Regions from separate parts of the Homo sapiens genome. Here region 2 is linked to region 1. Evidence: promoter capture Hi-C in 16 types of primary human blood cells and fetal thymus (Javierre and others, 2016). All regions are on one chromosome and are shown on one strand. Each heading gives the region's core, a stretch centred on a gene start or on the middle of the fragment in contact. The rest is flanking DNA. Distances are from core to core; before and after follow the strand shown. Region 1 holds the start of TCF7L2 (transcription factor 7 like 2). Region 2 overlaps ADD3-AS1 (ADD3 antisense RNA 1).

Evidence for each region. Contacts are between HindIII fragments. The CHiCAGO score rates a contact against its expected background, and 5 or more counts as called.
Region 2: a fragment that was not itself captured here is called in contact with the fragment with the promoter of TCF7L2 in region 1 in 1 of 17 cell types (neutrophils); the score reaches 5.3 in neutrophils.

Annotation. Positions count from the first base shown.
Region 1 is chr10:112,948,613-112,951,709 of GRCh38, reverse strand. TCF7L2 (transcription factor 7 like 2) reads right to left here and starts at 1,463. Exons shown (of 15, transcript NM_001367943.1): 1 at 765-1,463; 2 at 437-503; 3 at 103-227. The coding sequence starts at 953. It overlaps LOC124902502 (a long non-coding RNA gene), which reads left to right. Exons shown (of 2, transcript XR_007062291.1): 2 at 703-1,081. The HindIII fragment of the contact is 8,187 bases long and covers 1-3,097 here.
Region 2 is chr10:110,000,729-110,003,965 of GRCh38, reverse strand. The region is part of intron 2 of ADD3-AS1 (ADD3 antisense RNA 1); the gene reads left to right. It also overlaps a transcript of ADD3 not described here. Among named protein-coding and RNA genes, the nearest start is that of ADD3, 5.6 kb to the left of the region's middle. The HindIII fragment of the contact is 7,170 bases long and covers 1-3,237 here.

The sequences.
Region 1 (3,097 bases), core at 214-2,713:
AGGGGGAGGCGGGGAGGGGGCAGGGCAGGGGCCGCATGCGGGGCCCGGCGGGCGGCGCGGGCGGGCGGGCAGCGGGCGGGGGCCGGGCGCGGAGGCACTTACGGTTCGGGCGGTGGGCGAGAGCGATCCGTTGGGGAGGTAGGGGCTCGTCAGGTCGGGGATCATGATGAAGGGGTAGCCGGGATACGGTGGCCCCTTAAAGAGCCCTCCATCTTGCCTCTTGGCCGCTAACATGGCGGGGCGGCGAGGGGACAGCGGCGGCCGCGCGGAGCGGGAGAGAGTGAGGAGAAACTTTTTAGAAAGTGCCCCGAGGGGCCGGGCGCCCCGACCGGGCCGGCGCAGGGCCAGGCCGAGCCGGGCGCGGGGCCGGGGCGCGCGGGGCGGCCGGCCCGGGGGGCGGCTCCGGGCGGCTGCGGGGCGCGCGGGGCGTACTCACCTTCTTCCAAACTTTCCCGGGATTTGTCTCGGAAACTTTCGGAGCGAGGCGGAGGCCGTCTTTCCGCCTTCCCAGAGGGGTGGAGGTGGGGAGGGCGAGGGGCAAACGCCACGCAGAAGGGGGAGAAGGGGGAGAAAAAGAATCGGCGAGGTCGAGGGGGGGGTAGAAAAAAACAGGGTTACAAGTTTTTGCAATGGTGGCACCGTACGCACACGCCGCCCGCCGGGCCCCGCCGCCGCCCCCAGCCCCGATTTCTCCCCTTTCAGCAACATTTGCCAAGCCCAGGAAACAGATAAAAAACCCCACCAGCCCGAGGGGCTTTTCCTACCTCGGAATCGGAGGAGCTGTTTTGATTCGTTTCTGATTCATTGACTAGAGACGATTTGACATCAGCTAAATCCCTCTCTGCCGAGGAGTTTTCGGAGCTCTTCTCCTCCTGTTCGCCCTCGTCTTTGAAGGAAATCAGTTCGTCGTTGGCGCCTAGGTCATCCCCTCCACCGCCGTTCAGCTGCGGCATTTTTTTTTCACCCACCAGCAGCAATTTTGGAAGAAAAATGAAGGAGGAAGAAAAGCCAAAAAAAATCACCCCCAAAAAGTTTTGCCCCCCCAAAAAATATTGCAAGAAAAAGACGAGTCCAAGGTGAACTTTTTTCTGCTTGGGGGTCTTTTTCTCCTGGGGAGGGGAAAAGAGGGAGGAGGGGAGGGGAAGGGGGGGGAGATCTTCTGCACGCGTGAGTTTGGGTTTCTTTTTTCTCTCGTTCCCAAGGATCCGATCAATGTGCAAAAAAATAATAAATAAAAAAGGGGGGTAAAAAAAAAAAAAACACCAACAACAACAAGAAGTCAGATATAAAGAGCAAAGGGGGGGGGAAGCCGAAGATACAGGAGGTGCTCGTGCCGCTCGGATTTGAGTGAGTTGAAGTTAGACTGAGAGCTTTTCAGTTCAAAGGCGGCGCTGATTGACAGATAGAAAAAGGGGGATCGAAATCCGGAGGAACGGAGTAGTCTGGGAGCGGAGATTATTGACAGGGCGAGAGGAACACACTGCCTTAATGAGATGCCGGAGGGCGGGGCCGGCCCAGTGACGTGTGCATAAATAAACAGCCGGGGTGGGCGGGGCGGGGGCGGCTAACAATGATCCTTTCGGGCGCCGGGAGAGGGAGGAGGGAAAGAAGGAGGAAGAGAGGGGCGGGGAAGCCGGGGGGAGACGGAGGGAGGAGTGTGCAGGGGGAGCGGCCTGCGCGGAGTGTGTGCGAGCCCGGGATTCTGGGCGAGGGTGCAGGGACTTGCTCCGGGAGGGGGCGGTTTCAGAAAGACAATGCGGGGTGGGAGAGGAGGAGAAGGGGGTGGCGACCAAGTCAGGAATCCGAGCCGAGGAAGGCGGAAGGAAAGCCCACTTGGGGGGCGGGGATGGGGAGAGGCCCAAAACAGTGCACTTTAGAAATATTAGAAATAAGTCTTAAGGGAGGGGGAAAAGGAAGGGTAGTATTTGAGAAAGTGGTGGCTGGGGGAGGGGGTGGGGGGGTGCTTGGTGGTTAATTCAGCAGTGAAATCAGCCACCCTTAGACGGGATGCGACAAAAGTGGTCAAAAGGAAAGATCAACCCTCCACTTTCAGAGAGCTTGGGGAAGTGAAGGGGCTGGTCAAAGTTCCTGGTCATCTACAATGAAAGAAACTATTAACCCATGAGGCCTCCCTCCTCCCTTTTTTGTTTATTAGTAGTGAATCATTTCATGAAATGTTAAGTCCCACTAGGATGGATATGCCAAAACGACTTTTTATGCAAAAAACAAATGCTAAATGTCAGAAACATTAAAAGTATCCTTAAGGAAAAATATATGATTCTTTTAAATGTAGAGTGGTGTTTTGCTTTTTTTTTTTTTTTTTTAACTGACGTTGGAGGTAGTAGGAAATGAGCTAGAGTCAAAGTCCTTTTTGACTTAGGAGGTGAAAAGTTTGGGCGTTAACACCGTCAGGGAAAATAAAACTGAAAGTTCACCAACCCCTGGGATCAGTTGGGCTACAGTGTTTCTCGAAGGGGGTCTGAAATGAAATCCCCGAAAGACTGACCAAAATAATCAAGATGTAGGTGGCTCTGGCAGGAAATTGCTAACCAAACCGATGCTAGAAGACCTTCGGGAGAAGATGGGAAACCTGGGGCTTGAGGCAGGTATTTGTTGACTTTTAGGTATTAGAGGAGGAGCAGACTGATTTGCTACAAAATGGGGAATGGAATTATGTTAAAGAGGAAAGACCCAGCTCCCAAAACACAATGTTCCTGGGTGATAGAGCAAGAAAATTCATTTTTGCAAATACCCAGTAAGAAGTAGACTGGACACTACAACATGAAAAAGAGAAAAAAGAAAAAAATAAATCAGTAGGATTTAGCAAATTGCCTCTTAGGAGTAGTATTAGTCTAGAGTCCAGGATGTACTGTTGTCCCACCCTTCCCTGAAAAAGCTCACCTGCACTTCAGCTGGCCCATCAGCACCGAGGTTTCCAAAAGAAAGCAAATTTGCCATGTAATATTTAGAGAGTTTGGGGTTTCAGCAAAACTGTTTTATAGGCTAAAGTCTCAGAAAGACTACTAAAAATAATGATACCGAGATTGACAAGGCCAACGAATTCCCCTGCACTGGAAAAAAATCACAACCACATTTG
Region 2 (3,237 bases), core at 169-2,668, 2.9 Mb after region 1:
CGATTTAATGAATGAATTGCTCCCAACATATCCAGAAACTGACTACAAAGTGTTTTTGTTTGTTTTTAATTTGCATTGTCCAAAACAACTGACTCCATTCTCTACCTCCCTTTCCTAACACAGTCATGATCTAAAAGAAACAATCTCTTTTCTGTAGAGCTCTTTAGACGTGCCTGATTTGTATTCTCCAATTAAATTGTAGCCACAAATCTCAACAGGAACTCTGGGTAGATCAAGCAGTAGCAGAGGCACTTTCTGCCAAGAAAACACAGGCTTCAGTTTCAGAGTTCTGGTGTTCCAGTTCTAGATGTAACACCAACTGGTTATATGACCTTAAACAAGTTTCTCGACATGCTTGTGCCTCAGTATAGCTGTCTTTTAAGTGGTGGTGGCGGTGGATTATAATACGTGCTGTACCTACTTCATAGGGTTGTAGTGAAGTTCAAATGAGATAATAAATGTAAAAATGCTTTGAACTTTTCAAAGCACTATGTAAATATAAGGTATTATTATAGGCAAATGTATTTAAAATCAATTATCTAGTTCAAGGGACTTTACCCTAAACAACCTGTTTTACTACTTGTTGTTTCAGAAAGCAAACAGGTTTATCTTTCTCTCTTCCTCTTTCTCCATGCACAGACACACACACACACACACACACACCCTTACTGTTCCCAATTTAACAACTTCTCAGCTTTGAGGATTTTCCCTTGGGTTGGGAAATATGCATATGCCATTTGAATATGAAGAGCCAAGAATTTATAGAATCCTCTCCCTATCCCACCCCCCCAAAATTTACCTTTTTAAAGCTCTCAGACAGAAAAGTAAACTTAATGAAGCACAACAGCCTTTTCAAACTACATAATGTTATGTATTTAATCAGTGGAGTTAGATGAGCCATTCATTTGAAACTTGGCCATGCTGCATACATTTTGATCACCCTTTTATGCCAAGCCAGTCTGGAAAGTACTTGGGGAACAAGGCAGGGAGGACTAACACGGAATTCATGCTAATGAGTTCTCCATTCCCCAAGGAGATATAATCAGGGCAATACTCAAGGATTCGTCAACATATTTTATTAGTACTATGTGACCTATATGGTTTATTTTAAAGGAATTAACCTCAGCTAAATATCTGAAAGATCTTTATACAACTGTTTAAGTAATCAAGCCTGATATATTTCTGAAACTTTAATGAAATATCACCCTTAGGGTCCTCTTTTTTTTTAAGTGTTTGTTCTCATTTATTCATTTTCTATTTGGTAACTTAAAATCATCATGACTAAATAAATATGCAAACAACTGCTACAAATAAGAAACTCCTAGTGGGAGGCCCACTCATATGTAGAACATAAAGACTCATAGAAACTCAACTTAAGGGTCACTAGTTTCCAGCCAGGCACGGTGGCTCATGCCTGTAATCCCAGCACTTTGGGAGGCCGAGGTAGGCAGATCACAAGGTCAGGAGATCGAGACCATCCTGGCTAACACCATGAAACCCCGTCTCTACTAAAAATACAAAAAATTAGCCCGGTGTGGGGGGCGGGAGCCTGTGTTCCCAGCTACTCAGGAGGCTGAGGCAGGAGAATGGCGTGAACCCGGGAGGCAGAGCTTGCAGTGAGCCAAGATTGTGCCACTGCACTCCAGCCTGGGTGACAGAGCGAGACTCCGTCTCAAAAAAAAAAGACTCACTAGTTTCTTTTTGTTTGTTTGTGTTTGAAACGGAGTCTTACTGTGACCTCCACCTCCTGGGTTCAAGCGTTTCTCCTGCCTCAGCCTCCTGAGTAGCTGGGATTACAGGTGCCTGCCACCACACCTGGCTAATTTTTGTAGTTTTAGTAGAAACGAGGTTTCACCATGTTGGCCAGATGGTCTTGAACTCCTGGCCTCGAGCGATCTGCCCACTTCAGCCTCCCAAAGTGCTGGGATTACAGGGGTGAGCCACCACACCCAGCCAAGAATCGCTAGTTTCTATGTAGAAAAACTTTAAAATGAATGCAAAAAATGCAATTGCTATGTGAAACCTAAAATACGTTAGTTGCATATACATCTTTTCATCACATAGTCATATGCCTTCACACTTCAGCTACGAATCTCTAGTATGTTACATGATCTTAAAACCAGGTGTTTTACTTCTTATGACAGTATTTCTAGAAAGTAATCAGGAACTACCTCCAACAGAACCATTTGGAGTGTTTCCTAAAATACTAATTCATAGGCTCTACTCCAAATTTACTGAATTAAATCTTTTAGGATGGGGCCCTGGATTGAGACTTTTTTTAAAAAAAAATCTCTGAATAAAGAAGACGATTGAGGACTTTTTAAGCACCCCAAGTGATTCTCATGTATCACCAGTTTGATCACAGCTATCCTATAGAAACAATGCACTGTGTAGACAGAATCTCAGACATGAGTGAAATGCGGATGGCCCCGTTTCATTATGTGAAAGAGATTCAGATAAGCACAAAACTGGCTACACCTTTTCTGCTGCATAAATGTGTGCAAAATATTTAACCTCTCTGAGTCCTAGTAATTTTTTTTTTTTTTTTTTTGAGACAGGGTCTTACTCTGTCTCTCAGGCTGGAGTGCAGTGGTGTGATTTCAGCTCACCACAGCTTCAATCTTCCGGGCTCAAGCGATCCTCCCACCTCAGCCTTCCTGGTAGCTGGGACTACAGGTGTGCACCACTATGCCTGACTAATTTTTGTGTTTTTAGTAGAGACGGGGTTTTGCCATGTTGCCCAGGCTGGTCTTGAACTACCGGGCTCAAGTGACCCACCCACCTCGGCTTCCCAAAGTGCTGGGACTACAGGTGTGAGCCAACATGCCCAGCCCCTAGTATCTTAATCTGTAAGATAATACCTGTTTGACATTGTTGTGAGGATTAAATGACATAACATATGGAGAGCTTCTAATGCCTGACACCATATGGAATTTAAATATTTGTTTATTCTCTCACTCTGTGTTCAAAAATGAGTTTCCAGGTGCATTATTCTTGTCTAGTGTTCTTAGTATGTTTGGTAGAGTAATGTGAACTAGTAATTTAATGGTGGCTAAAATTTTGAGCTCTTAAAACATACCAGTACTGAATGTCTTATATGTGTTATTTCATCTCATACCTACAATAACCCTTAAAGGTAGATACTACTGTATTATTATCTTCATTGTACAGATTAAGGAACTGAGCCTTGGAGAGAATAAGTAACTTGCCCAGGATATCAAAGCATAGAATTAACAC